Regions from separate parts of the Homo sapiens genome. Here region 2 is linked to region 1. Evidence: promoter capture Hi-C in 16 types of primary human blood cells and fetal thymus (Javierre and others, 2016). All regions are on one chromosome and are shown on one strand. The core of a region is centred on a gene start or on the middle of the fragment in contact, and the rest is flanking DNA. Distances in the headings are between cores, read along the strand shown. Region 1 holds the start of GPR63 (G protein-coupled receptor 63). Region 2 overlaps MANEA-DT (MANEA divergent transcript).

Evidence for each region. Contacts are between HindIII fragments. The CHiCAGO score rates a contact against its expected background, and 5 or more counts as called.
Region 2: a fragment that was not itself captured here is called in contact with the fragment with the promoter of GPR63 in region 1 in 4 of 17 cell types (fetal thymus, non-activated CD4 T cells, naive CD4 T cells and 1 more); the score reaches 7.2 in fetal thymus.

The regions. Positions count from the first base shown.
Region 1 is chr6:96,834,629-96,842,137 of GRCh38, forward strand. GPR63 (G protein-coupled receptor 63) reads right to left here and starts at 2,849. Exons shown (of 2, transcript NM_030784.4): 1 at 2,640-2,849. RefSeq lists a silencer at 2,359-2,408. The HindIII fragment of the contact is 5,695 bases long and covers 2,476-7,509 here.
Region 2 is chr6:95,568,137-95,575,645 of GRCh38, forward strand. All of the region lies in intron 1 of MANEA-DT (MANEA divergent transcript), which reads right to left. Among named protein-coding and RNA genes, the nearest start is that of MANEA-DT, 5.6 kb to the right of the region's middle. The HindIII fragment of the contact is 5,105 bases long and covers 2,324-7,428 here.

The DNA of each region.
Region 1 (7,509 bases), core at 1,599-4,098:
ACACATTTCTGGTAAACAGCTAGCAAATTAAAGAAAAAAAAACCGCCTAACAGATTACTTCATTTCATTTCTAATTTTCATACATAAGCTGAAATATAGCAGCTTCAGCTGTGAAATGTGGTAACAAACATAACAAAGGTGAATGAAATAGTTTTGCTTGTAGTAACTGGAGCACTGTATTTATACATATTGTTTTTCCAAGCATTAATGGGTCCCTCTCTCAAATCAAGTGCTTAAGACATCATTTCACAAATTGGAGTACCAGAACTTCCCCAAGGTTTGCCTCTCATGCCTTTGAGGTCTACTCTCTAAATCCCAGATCTATGAAGAATGTCCTAAAGGTTATTTTTGAAGTATTAAAAGAAGAAAACACTATATTGACAAACTAAATTTTACCTAGAATTTGCCTATTGAAGCTTAAGAAATGCCTGGTTCAATTATCCATTGGCAGGGTAATTCAATCCATTTGAATAGATAAATGTGGTTAGGATATGGTTCCCTGATCCAAGCCTTGTTAAGAGTTCGAGAACATACTGAAAACCAGTGCTTTTTAACTTAACTGATATTGACTAAAATGCTGAAAAGATGACAAGCCCTAGCAATAACTATTTTTAGCTGATATTTTAGACCTACTGTTCCTGGTGCACATGTATTATTAGGTCCCTAAATGGTTTTCATGTTTTTTATATACTCAATAGCATATACAGATATGGTATATATAGTTATACTATATATAGTATGGATACATAAATATAGATATATGTGTGATATGGATATATACATATACAAATCCACCTCTGTGTGTATCATTTCCAAAATACTCATTCACAAAACAATCAACCCAAATTAAATAAACCATAAACAAAATCTCAAGGTGCTCAAGTAACTCTAGGAACTAAGTCACATCCACTTAGGAACACTAAATTCTTACTTTCTTGCTTGCAGTCCAGCAAACTTAAGGTAAAACAGTAACTACATAGGGGTTTTAGTTATGTTTATTTTTCCTAAGCAAATTTTTCTCCAAGAATGTTCAGCTTGCTGAAATTTTCAGAAAATGCTTGAGATGGTGGGTTCTTTTTTTGAGTTTCGGTACTGGTATACTTTACAGCAAAGTGACAAAACTGTACTTAGAGATAAAAATCTATATCCCAAACAAAATTTTACAGTATTACTGGTTATTCTGGGATGATTTTCTTCGAAAACTTCCCATTACAAACAATATGTTTCCTACACTATCCCGTCTGCCTTGGTAGTATACTTTTCACACACAAAATTGTACGTAACGCATATACCAGAAATACGTCAAGGCACTCTTTTATTTAAATAAGCTCCCACATTCTGTTTTTATTGTTCAAAATGATCTGAATGCTCATAATTGATGTAATCAATTATGTCACTAAAATTTTGGCTATGCAACATTTTACAAAATATAGGGACTTTTCATCAGCACCTTAGATTTGTAGTTGGCAATGTGAGTGAATAAGGCAAACAGGAATAGAGGTGTGGCAGAGACCTAGGGGTGTGAGAAAATGGGGCTTCCTTTACCCACGGGACACGTGGGAAAAAAAACTTATCCACGTCTGCAATAAATGTACTTTTATGTTAGGTTTCATTAAATGAAACACGTATTACATACCTCGTCAATGGATTAGAATGTCTGAAGCAGTATCAGCTTATGCAAGAAACATGAGGTTTTTATCCATGATTCTTAGAAACACTACTCCTAGAACTGGTTGAAGGCTTCTTAATCTAAGACATAATGAAAAACAAGCTCACCCAATAAACAAAGAGAAATCCTATTTTAAAAACATATGGTTTAAACTTCATCCTACCTCACTAAAAACCTGCATGCTACTATAGGGATGCCTGTATTCCCTAAGTGTCGAGACTCAGTCTCATCCAAGACTAAACGATCTCTTTGAAAATTTGGGCAAGCCCTGGGGGAAATTTTCATAAAGATATGTTGTTGGATTTTTTTTTTAAGCACTCTGAGCCTCCACAACATATTTTATTATTAAAAAGAAGAATGTTTCCGAAAAGGGGCAGAGGAGAAAAGACTGAAATCAGGGCGACGTTGAAAACCGGCCAAGGATGCAACACACAGCGCCGCAAGCTGAACCACATGGAAGAGGGAACCTCTCTTAACTGTTGGAGCGCGAAAGGACCTTTCGCTCTCGCAAACAAGGTAAATTTCAGCCCTCAAGCAGCGAGACCACCGTGTAAAAGTTCAAGTGGAGCTCATCTCCTTCCTCTCACTCCCAGCACTGAATTCTCAACCAGAACAGCCCAGCAGGAAAGGAGCCGGCATGGGGTGCCCCTCTGCAGCCGACCGTTTTCCTAGAAGGCCTAACCGCTCAGACGGGCAGGGGAGGGGGGCGGGCGGCCCGGGAGAAACCGAGTCCCCGCCGGGTCCCCACCGTGTGGCGCCGACCGAAATAACTCCAGTCCAGCTGCAAAAACCCTCCCGAAAACCCAAGCTTCTCCGGCACAACTTCGGTCTCTCCAGCCTCATTCCTCCCCGCACTCCGCCAAACTGCTCGCCCTGCCCAGCGCAGCGGATGCAAGCGCTCCCCGCCCCGAGCGGCTACCTGTCCCGCGGGCCGGGGATCGCGGGCCGGGGATCCCGAGCCTCACCTCACCTCAAGCGAAGGGCAGCGCGCGGGCGCCCGCGGAAGAGCCCAGGGAGCATGGCTCCATGTAGTCCCTCCCGGAACTTTCCTGACATAGCACTTCTCTCCTCCGCTGCAGAGAACAACGCTGCCAGGCGGAGGAGGAAGGAGGACAACGAAGAGGAGGTGGTGGCGGCGGCGGCGATACAGGCGGCGGTGGCGGGAGCTGGAGCTGAAAGTGAGGAGCATCGCGGACGAGCGCCGCCGCCTCGCGAGCCGCCGAGGGGTTCCCGCCCCCAGGGTAACCAACGCTCCCTCTTAAAGGCGCCGGCCCCGGTTTTAGACCGGGAGGTGAGTGAGAGAAGAGAAAGAGGGAGGAGGCAAGTAAAAAGGGAGGGGGCAAGTAAAGAGGGAGGAGGCAAGTAAAGAGGGAGGAGGCAAGTAGAGACGGAGAGATCCCTGGAGGCCACGCCCGAGCTGCCCCAGGGCGGATCGCCGGCCCCTTTCGACCGCTCCCTGCCCTGAACCCCTCTATGCTCAGGTCGCATCGTTCCTCCGCCTGGGCAAAGGCATCGAGGGTACCGCAAGTGCGCCCACCCGGCACTGGGGCAACCCTCGTCGTTGGCCTGCGCCCTGCACCCCGCGCCTCGCTCCCAGACGGTCGCCCCGCCCCTAATCCCTGGCAGTCCTTTTAGGGTCCTGGTTTCCCGCTCCCACGGGCCCCCAGAGTGCACCTCCAGTGGCTACTGCCCAGTGGATTTGCGTTCCCCGAGGCTACTCGCGTTTCTTCTTTGGTTATTCTTCCTCATTTCCAACACAATGATGAGGGTCTCACGCAGGCGTCCAGAAGACTGAAATAACTAAAAGCCAGCTGGGGCCCCTAGACCAATGCTTGAAGGTGTCCCTGATGTGTGGCATGGGAGAATTGCCAGGTATCCTCCTTTACCCGGTGCTCTGTTCTCTTCCAATGGCCAATCCCCAGCTGGCCTCCCACTGGATTTCTAAAACGATTCACTTTCATCAACACATGGGCTGTAAAGATGCCAAACAACTCAGGAAGACCCCCCAGAAAAAGTATCATCTTGAGACAGTGGAAAATGCTGCTTTCAGTGACAAGTGATATTTTCAGCTATTATCAACATATGTGATCATTACTGAGGCCACAGCCTCAGGTGGTGATGCCCAGGAGGCTCCCAGCATCAGCAGCTATCGTCACCCTAGGAAGAGACCACAGCAGCAGTGGGCATGAGCAGCAGAGGGTTGCTACTGTCCACGGACTTGTTTTTCTACCTCATAGTTCCAACCCTTGCTTCTTGGACCTATGGGACTTCAGTATAGTGTTGTGCAGTTTGTACTCTGCACTGTGTCCTCTGTCTGAGGAGGTGGGCAGGCAATTTGGAGTTAAGATCTAGCCTGGGTTCCAGAGCACCAGTCCTAGCACCAAGCTCGGAGAGAGTGGCATTTCCTCATTCACACAAAGGCACTTGCATATCACTACCCTGAGACTGAACCAGAACATCTCAGTTCTTTGCCTCCTGCCACCTACAGCTGTGAAAGAAGCACTTGTGTTGAACTTGTAGAAGAATAAGGCAAGAGGAGACTATACAAAAGGTTGAAGAAACTTCTGTAACCAGATGGAGACGAAATAAGCCCTGGGCTCAATAAAAGCAGGAGACATGGTCTTGCCTGGACCAAACTTTTAAGATGGGAAAGGAGATTATCAGCGAGCAAAAGTGAAGTCAGGATAGTTGGATGTGGCCAGCACACAACTCAAACTGAGTTAGCAAAACCTGCAGCAAAGGGCATTGGAATTTATTGGTTCATATGTTTATAAATCCCATAAGTAGAACTGGCGCGCGCACACACACACACACACACACACACACACACACGTTCTTAGAAATCCTTTTTACTCCAGATACTCAAAGAGCATCAGGACTCAATTTCTCTCCCTGTCTTCATTGTGCTTTCACTGCACTGGTTTTATTTCTCTAAACAGAGGGAAGACCTACATCTCCAGTCTTAACATCCAACCTCCTTAGCAATTAGTCGCATCAGAAAGAAAGCAAGCTGAAGAATGTCTCACCAGACCCACGTGGATCCTGCGTTCATCTCTGAACTAACCATTGTAACTATGGGATGGAATGCACACTGCCAGGCTGGGGTTATTTGCCTTTATCTACAAAAAGGTCAAGGGAAATAATTGTATGTACCCTTCATATATACCCAAACCACAGGGACCGAGTAGAAAGAAAGAGGTTTCCCAAAGGAAAATTAAAGTGTTGTTAATAAAGAAGGCAAAAGAATGTTGAGTAGATAAAGACTATAAATGCCCACTACAATCCCCATTCCCCAGTATACACACATCACCACCACTGTCACCAAGGGGACTGACCACCTCTCTGCTCCTTTACCAACAGTCTCAGGATCAGAAGAATGAGAATGCTGATGGGTCATGGAGGTGCTAGTAATTGAGCCAACCAGCCACATCCTTTGGCCTCAGAGCCACTGAGAAGATCCTGAGTGACATTTGTGACATTTCACAAACCACCTGCAAACAAACAATATATAAACCATGATTGTATTCAATTATTTTTCCCTAAATTATAAACCTGCCTCCATGTACCTCAAGCCCACATTCATTGTTAGGCCTTTTTAGTTATGCAATCAATTTAATTTGATAAGAGCTCATGGAAATTCCCTGATATATATATATATATTCAACTTGGGGGAAAAAAAAGTGGCCTACGAATAATCACATTTCAGTATCCAAGTGCCAAAGAGCCCAGCTTTGTTTTTAAACTTCAGTAACTTTATCTTTTCAGAGAGAAAGATGTTATCTTTCTCTCTGAAAAGGTGTTTATTTTGCCTACCAAAAAGTGACAAAAAATTTCAGGCTTTTTTTGTCTCACACAAGAACTTTTCTTTTACAGTAGTTGCTAAAAAAAAAAGTTTTGTATTTTTTTCTTCATTTGTGCATTTTATAGAAATCCTCATATATCATAGAAATTTAGACTAATAAACTGGAAGAGACTTTAGAATAACCTAAAACATCCCTTTCATTTCAGAGCTAAAGAAATGAAAGCTCAAAGGTTGACTTGTGTAGGGTACATAGCTGTTTTTTAGTATCTGTGATGTCCCTAACACACATGTGCTTTTGCTAGACATTTCGAAGGATATAGAAGCAAAAGCATAGAATGTAGTCACTGTCCTCAAAGAGACATAACTATCTAAGATATAAGACAATTACAGAACATCACAATATATCATATAATTTAGTGTAAAAAGTGTGGGATGATCTCCGTGTATTAAAAATAGGCATCAGAAAATGAGACACTATGGACTGGAATAGTCTTGGAAACACTTTCTAGCGAGGAAGCAATTAGATGGTCTTTTTTAAATGCAGAGGAAAAAGGAAAGATTTTCCAAGCAAGAAAGCAAACAAAATGAGAAGGCATTGATGGGAAAAAGATCTTGCCACTTGCAGGAACAGAAATGAAACCTGTACTGTCATGGTTTAGAAAAGTTTTTCAAACTCCAAGTCATGAAGTCATTTTACTAAGTTTTGACTAGTATTATTTTAATTAAAATATCAGCATGCATCATACTTAATAAGTATTATTTGTTAAACTTGTGTTTCATTATCATGCGTGTTCTGAGTTATGACATGAATTCAATGTCTTACTTTGGTTAATGTTCACAGTAAGCTCAAAAGCCTCTGGTTCTGAAGCTAAATAGACTAGGTGTGAAACTGTTTTGAGGCAAGACATTGAGCAAATAACATCTCTCCAAGCATCAATTTCTTTATGTGCAAGAGATTTTCTGCACAGTCCTGTGCACACAGTAAGACTTGTAAATGCCACCTCTTATTGACTAGATTGGATATTTTCAACCCTGACTGCACATTAGAATCACCTGAGAGGTTTTTTTTAAAATACCGTTGCCTGGGGCCCATCCTCAGAGACCCAGATTCAATTTCAGGGTTGACTCTGGACATCAGTGAGATTAAAAGCTGCCCAAGTGATTCCAATGTGCAATCATGGCTGAGAACCCTGAGTTGGAGCCATAGAACACATCTAGCACCTGAGGAGCCTGTCTCTTTCCTCAGTGAGTACATTGACTTTGATAAGTTACGTTTCTTCCCATAGATAGCATGCCAGGTAGTCAGCAGATTTCTAACTACTTTCTACTCTGCATTTGCCCCTGAAAAATCTTCAACTGTGGTGTAAACTGCTCATGGTTTACCTCAGTAACACAGCATGAATCCTGAGTCATAATATTTCATGTGTCTCTCCACATGTACATTTTATGGTCAGTTGTAAGCATAGAGTCGTTTCTGGAGGTGTTAAAAGGCAGTAAAAATACCACCAAAAACTCCCTAAGGAAAAGCAGAAAGGCTAGAAGTAAGTGGCATTAGAAATCCATAAGCTGAATAATTAGCAGATGACTCATTAAATTCCAGCTATTTTCATCCTAACTTTTAATAGTGTAGTTTCTAAACATAGTAATTAGTGATGTGCTTTTTGTAATTTTACATTCAGTAATCCCTCTTAAGTGTTCATAACTTACAAACTTTTTCCCCTATTTAATCAATCCCTTTGTGTATGAAAGAGTAAACATTTTCAAATACAACTTGTCCAAGAAATTCAGTATCTAGACCACTGTATTTTGACTGATTGTTTTGTCTATGTAAATCCAGACTTTTCTGAACTTTGGCTGGAGAAAGATAATAAAGGTAGCATAAATTTAAATTCCCCCAAAGAGACATAACAACGAAGATAAAGGGGGAAAAACACTATAAACTACAAGTCTGATAAGCAGATACCATGTACTTCATGATATGACAAAATCAGAAGTACCCAGAACCACTGAGAGGTTTTATGGCCTAAGCAACGGAATC
Region 2 (7,509 bases), core at 3,626-6,125, 1.3 Mb before region 1:
AACATCTAAGTTTTCAAATGTTCTGGCATTTATTCTTAGCATTCTCTGATGACTTTTTAAAAGCTTACAGTACTTTTATTACTCCTTTTCCATTCCTGATATTATTTGTTCCTTTTCTCTTTTTGCCCTCCCCCTCATTTCTGTTGGAGGCCTATTTATTTTTAATAGTTTATTTTTTTAAAGACTCTGGTATCTTTATTTTCTATTTTATTACTTTCTCCTGTTATCACTATTTCTCCCTTTTTTTGACTTTTTGGGTTTACATTAATGCTCATATTTTAACATGAAGCCCTTTTAAAATAATTCTTTTCTAAATATAATCTCTACTTTTAGTTCTTTTTTAATCCATGAATCATTGGTCTGTGTCATTTCATTCCTATACCTGATGAATGGCTACTGTTTTGTTATTGTTTTTTAATTTCATTAAATATTTGTCAAAGAATACAGTTTATATGTTGTTATTTGGTATTTCCTGAAACAATCTTTAGTGGCCTAGAATGTGCTAAAGTTTTGTACATACTAATGTTTTCTTAAAATAAAGTGAATTATTTTTTCAGGTACAAGATGATATGTAAGTACAATAAATAAATTCCCTTAAGTGCTTCGTTGAAATAATCTATATTCTAATAGTTTTATACTTTACCTATTATTTCTGGTAGAAGCATGTTACCAATCTCAATATGATTATTAACTTTGCAAGTTCTCTTTGTAATTCGGTCCAGTTTTTAAAAAATCCTTATGATGCAAGAATAAGTTGTCTCATTTCCTTGGCTGAATATTACAGTTTCAGAAGTTAGGAAAGAGTCTTTCATCCACGACTAATCTTCTCCACCAAGTCACTGGCTTCAAATTTTCTACTTGTTCTTGACACTTAGAATTTTTTTCTCTCTCATTTTTTCTCTCTCTCCCTCTCAGGCTACATAGTAAAACCAAATATTTTAAAATTACACCTGATTTAGCATTTCTTTGTGTGGGAGAGAGGCTGTGTAGCCACATTAGTTAGTTCACCCAGAATTGTGTTCATCAGAAATTTTCCCCGTAAAATTTACAGTAGGGTTGATATGAAGAATCAGTGCCTTTTCTTTCCTCCTGACTGGGCATACCAGGTTGCACTGACAATATTTTCTAAAATAGATTGTATTCTGTACCAGCAACTCGTTTCTTTATTCTATTCTGGCTGTCACACTTAAAGATATTATCAAGATGTTTTGCAAAGTTGCAGAGAAGTTTTAAAGGGGTCAAAATGTTCTGAAAGAAAGTTAGAAACATATTCATTTATTTATTTTTGTTGTAGAAGAGGTATTACGGTATTTTGTAAAGCTCAATAAAGAGAGCTAGGAAACCTGTATGGAAGAAATAAGGAAATTCATTTAGAATTATTTTGATAAAAACTTTGCAGCAATTTGTCCTGACTTTGTGAGAATCAGTCACCTATTCTTGGCTGTTCAATGTATGGCTACCACCTGTTTGGAATGTTGTAGAAGAGATTGTTCTACTAAGTAAAATAAACAGTGTCCAGCTCAAACTTAATGTCTCTTAATAGTCTAAAATTCTATGAGTTGCCAAAATCCAACAATGTTCCAGCAGACGTAAGACTGTGGAAATTAGACAGGAAGTTAATAAGTAGCCTAAGCCAGGTACCGCCGGGCAGTAAGTGTTTTGGAGCTACATATTAGAATATAGGGAATACCACTGAGCTGCCCACAGTAAGAGCTTGAGGGAAAATAAATCTCACGTCTAGATGCAAAAATGCCACAGGAACAACAAGGAAGATGAGTTATCCGGGGAGCTTGAACATATGCAGAAGGAAATCACAATTGAAGGGGAAAAAATTAAGAGAAGCCAAAATATTTTGTTCCTTGGTAAATAAACCCAGAATAAAATTTCCTTATCTTGTGTTTTAATGAAATATCATTGATATTCACTTGAAAAATATTTTATACTCAGTATTTTCACATTCTTTTGATCTTTATTCCTATACTTTTCATGATCAAGTTATACAAATTGTAAAAAAAGTCAATGTTGTGGAATAAAGATACACTGTATCTCATAACAAATTCCATACCCACAAAAGCAGTGCAAATGTATGTATGTATGTATGAAATTTGTATTATGTATTTTTAGCACGTATTTTTGGGAGCACATTATCTTTTTCTATGAATCATAAAATACTACAGATAGCACATATATAGAATACATATAAAATTATATATAAATACATATAGATTATATGAATACATATATTTATATAAAAATAATTTATATTATATACATATTTATATATATAAATATTTGCTGTAAAATTATAAATGGTAACTTGATAAGCTTTGCTTTTATTGTTGCATATTTTTATTTTAACAGATGAGTAGACATCACACTCAGGGAATTTATTTTGAAAGAAGAACAACAAAATGTTACCACCAAATTATCATACATATGTATAAACACACACACACACACACACTCCCACACACATACTCTTACACTGTGTTTCCTTCATTCCTTATTCAGTCAATAAAGCATGAATTTCTGGCCACTAGATACATTCAACTAAATATTTCTGAAGTCTTGCTATGTGGAAAGCATTGTGATAGATGCTGTAAATAGATGAATGCAGAAAAGACTGCCTTGCAGGGGCACAAACTCTTTTGAGATATAGACATATACAAAAATAATTAAAGTAATCCAAACAGTGGTAAGCAGATAATCAATATAAACCACACACTGTATATCTCTGTGTTTCTTGGTAGACGGCAAACTCCTAGGAGGTAGAGATTTGTGATGAATATATGTTTTCTGAAAGTAGGCACCCCTCAACATTGTGAATAAAAGCATAATCAAATAAAACCAATTATTATGAAGCTAACATATTTGCCCATCTCAACAAACCAAAACAAAAACAGCCAGAATAAAAATTGGTAAATAACAACTCAGTTTATATTAATGCAATTAGCTTTTACTTTGCAGATACATTTAAAGAATGATGTTTCTCTCACATTCAAAGAAACAATCTGGGCATCTTATAATTAATGTAATATTTATTGAATCCCTACTGTTCATTGATTTATTTATTCAACACATATTTGTTGAAAACTGTATTAGTTTCCTGTGGCTGCTAGAACAAATTACCAGAAACTTGGTAGCTTAAAAAGCATACATTTATTCTCCTGCAGTTCAGGAGGTCAGAAGTCTGAAGTCAGTTTCACTGGGCTGAAATTGAGGTATTATTATGGTCACTCTCCCTTCTGAAGGTTTTTCTTGCCTTTTCTGGCTTTTAGAGCTTGAATGAAATGCTTGCGTTCCTTTACTTTTGGTCCCTAGTCTGATCTTCAAAGCCAGCAGCCTAGCATTTTGTTTCAGTAGTCCCATTGCCGCCTTCTTTGTCAAATCTCCCTTTGCCTCCCTGTTATAAAGACATGTGTGACTATATTTAGGGTCCATCAAGACAACTCTCATCTCAAGATCCTTCCTCACACCTGCAAAGTCCCTTTTGCCATTTGAATTATTACTCACTGGTTCAGAGGATTAGGACCTCTGTATCTTTGGGAATTATTATCATCCTACTACAAGCACCTACTATGTGTTGGGAGTTGGAGCCCCAGCTCTGAATTAGACTATCTCTGGAACTGCCTTCATGGAACCTGGCATTACAGGGTGTATAAAAGACGTACACAACACAGGCCTGCTATTTAATTGGGTTCTCTAACAGAAAAATGTTTATCAGCGAGTAAGTGCATGTTTTTTTCTTTTTCTCTTTTAACAAGAGAAATTGCCAGCTACTTCTTAGAATACGCAGGCACAGAAAATCACCTTGTAGCTGATACTGTTGAGAATAATTACTGTGGTCTCTCTTATATAAATAGAAGACAAGTGAGCCCATCATTTTGAGAAATAACAAGGCATTTTTTTTTTCTTTTACTGACTTTTGCAAACTGCTTCTTTTTGCATGGCAGGAGAAGGTGGTACTATGGCAGGAGAAAGATTAGGTTGGTTTGGTTAAAGAATCCATAGCATCCCACGAAGGAAGAAACTCAAACCTAATACCTTAGGAAATTCTCTGTGAAACCTGGAGTTTCAGTGATGCAACATTTGGGGAGTGGCTGATTGTAGTATGACACTAATGCTCAATCATAAAACATAGGACTTCCTTCCTTCAACACACTGAGAGGCCCTATATCAACTGGTGGAGTCATTTCCGAACTCAGGAAGTGCTACATCTCCCTGCTGGCTCTGGTTTCCACTAAAGACATGCATCTCCCTTAGCTGCCACCATGCCTGTTTGCAGAATAGGGTTTCCTTCAGGATAGGGTTTCCTTAAGGAGAAATGTTCCATATATAGTCAATCAATGCATTAGCATTTAACAGCACCATTCAACCAGAGGTGAACTTTCTGCCTTCTTTATTTGGGAAGGCAGAACGCTCTCCCATCTCTGTCACTCAGGAGGGCCATCACCTGGGCAAGTACTTGGATCAGAGAATGAGAAAAACTTTCACCAAAGGGGCTTGGCCTGTTTAGTTAGAAGTTACCTACACTGAGTTTAATTCTGGGTTATGTACATCAATTCTTAGAAGAGCCTTATCTAATGCATCAAGAAGTCACCCTAAAACCTGTGACCACTACGAGGCCAGTGAATTTTAATCATGACCTACCAAGGCAAGTTTTTTCCTTGGTCTGATAATAGTTCGTGAATTTATGTGGGATAGAGTTAGAATGGATTCCTTGCTGTCAGGATGCTGGTAGGTACAGTGAAAGGATCAGAGCATTAGGGGAAACAATGAGTTTGGCTCTCTGAATTATCTACTGCTATAAATTGGTGGAAACTTTAGTGTTTTACTCATGGCACTATTGGAGTTACATTCTTTGCATCCCAAACTGTGTCAAGGAATACCTTAGTTACACCTTCACAGATACCAGATATGATAAAAAGAACAGAACAATTTAGTTAATTAAGAAATTATTGCTGTTTCATATTACTCCCTATAAATGTATAGGGATTAAAAGAATAAAACAGTAAGTATAAAATAGTAAGGGAGAAAGTAGACTTTATATGGACAGTGAAGCATACTGTGATGGATAATTGGACTATTGTTTGGGGATTTAGTTTATTTTATTTTGTTACTACTTAGAATCTAAAAATCCTTCAGGTTTTGGAAGAATAATGTATTCTGTGTTTTGTGCCCAATTTCCCATTAAAGCCAAAAGTTCTGGGCTCTACTTCAAGGAGGCTAAGGAGGAAAAGACATACAGCCTAGAGTAAGCTAATCAAATGATCTCAATCCAAAATTTGAATCTTGAAGCAACGAGGTAGACAACACAGAGTTGAGAAGTCACTCATAGTGGTGTCAGCAGCTTTGAGATCAGTGCAGCCCTGAAAGCAGCAGTGCCCTAATCTGTACTGTTATATGAGGCTGTGTTCCCAATTTCCTAGCCCCTCTTGTTTCCTATCCATTGCCATTACCTAATGTACTAGCCTTCATCTTCATGCTAAATTCTGTAACTTTTTACATAGTCTATTTGTTTTCAGGTTTGCCAGATTCAATTTCTATTGCTTACAAAATATATCTCTGATTAATGTAAGTGGAGAGGATATGGACAGAAATTGATTTCTCATCTTCAGTGACAGGAGTAATGAGCAAAGGTATAAATGGCATATGGCTAGGAAATACTAATGAAACTTCTAGGACAGGGAAAAATAGACATGAAATAATCAGGAGACAAACAATAGGGCCCATTGAAATAGAGGCAAGAAAAAGATGGTTGAAGGTGTAACTGCTTAGGTCTGGGAAATACAAAGAAGACTCTTCAATGCTGATGCCAAAAGATAAGATAAATGGCTGCCGCTTTTCTAGTAGCAAGATAGGATTAACCTGAAGGATCTTGTGGGGTGGGGACTATGATTTTAATAAATGCTAATTAGGATAAACCAAAGGCTACTATTAGTTTATTGTGTTAGAATCTTTCCATACAAGAATTTGACAAAAAAGAAAAAAAAATGGGGGATTTTTTTTTTCTCCATTCTTCCTTCTTTGGATCATTTTTGTCTTTGGACTCTCAGTGACTGATTACCCCTGATGCAACACATTTAAAATGTCTATTTACTACACAAATGAATTTATATGCAGCTCTTTTTCTTTCCAAGAAACCATCTATTAGATAAATGGCATATTCTTCTGGTGCTGTATTTTTAATTAAAAAATACATAAATATGGGCTCACATTAAAAAAGAAAACAGCACTACAGAGAGTAAAAAAGAAAATTCTCCTTCATTCCCCTTCTGTTACATCCCTATAGGTAACAATGCATATATCCTTTCAGATATTTTTATATATCATACATGCACATATATATTTAAAATTTATATTAATATAATGTGAATTTCTCTTGTAAGTATTAACATACTAATCACTTGCTCATTTATCTTGGAGACCTTTCCCATCAGTGCTTATTAATTTACTAAATTCTACATTGTTTACATTCAGGAAATTATTGAACTAATTAAATCTATATGTATATATGAGAGATAAAAAAATTGGATGTGGCAGTTATTATGGCCATCCCATATTTGAAAACAAAATCAAGATTCAGAATGTAATAACATTCTATATGTGATAATTACAACAAAACATTGCTGACTTTCCAGTGATGTCAAGTAAAAAAAAAAAATTCTACATAAAAACACTGTGAAAAAAAGTGATGTGAAAGAAAAAAAGAATATTAACAACATTATTTCTATCATTGCCATCTCAACATTCCCTGACAATAGCAGGGGATAGGTAGAGCAGTCAGAGTTACAAGATGAGGCACTAGCAGCAATTCTAATCCAGTTTATAAACACCATTGTGCAATGAATAGAGTGTGATGCAATGAGAATCTACTTGCCTAATTTATTTACACTGGCAGTCATAAAGTACCCAGTTTTTAAGCAAGTGAGCATGCATTAACATATTTATAAAATAAAATCCTCTCCCTCTCATTTGACATCAGAAAATGTATTAATCATTCCCATAAATATATTAGAATAGGAAACAATGATTATCTCAATAGGTGCAGAAAAAGCATTTAATCAATTAAACTGTCACTCATGGTTAAAAAAAAGCAAACAACAATACATTATGAACTGGAAACAGAACACTTAATAATCTTGATAAAGTATTTACCAAAAACCCACAGCAAACATTGTTATCATTATAAAATGTTAGCAGTATTGCAGTAAAGTGAGGAATGGGACAAGAATGCCATTATTACTTCCATTAAACATTGCACTGGATGCTCTGTTAATAAATAAAAGAAAAAACTGAATAATAAGTGGTTTGAAAAGAGAGAAAGAAGGAAACCATTATTCTTATTTACAAATGATATGATTACCTATATAGGTCATCCAAAGATGTAACAGGGAAATAAAGCAAGCAATCAAAAAAATTCAGCGAAGCTTCTGGAGATAGTACCAATATATTGAAATTGATGCTCTTTTAATACAATGTTACTAAACAATTAGAAAATAGAGTTTA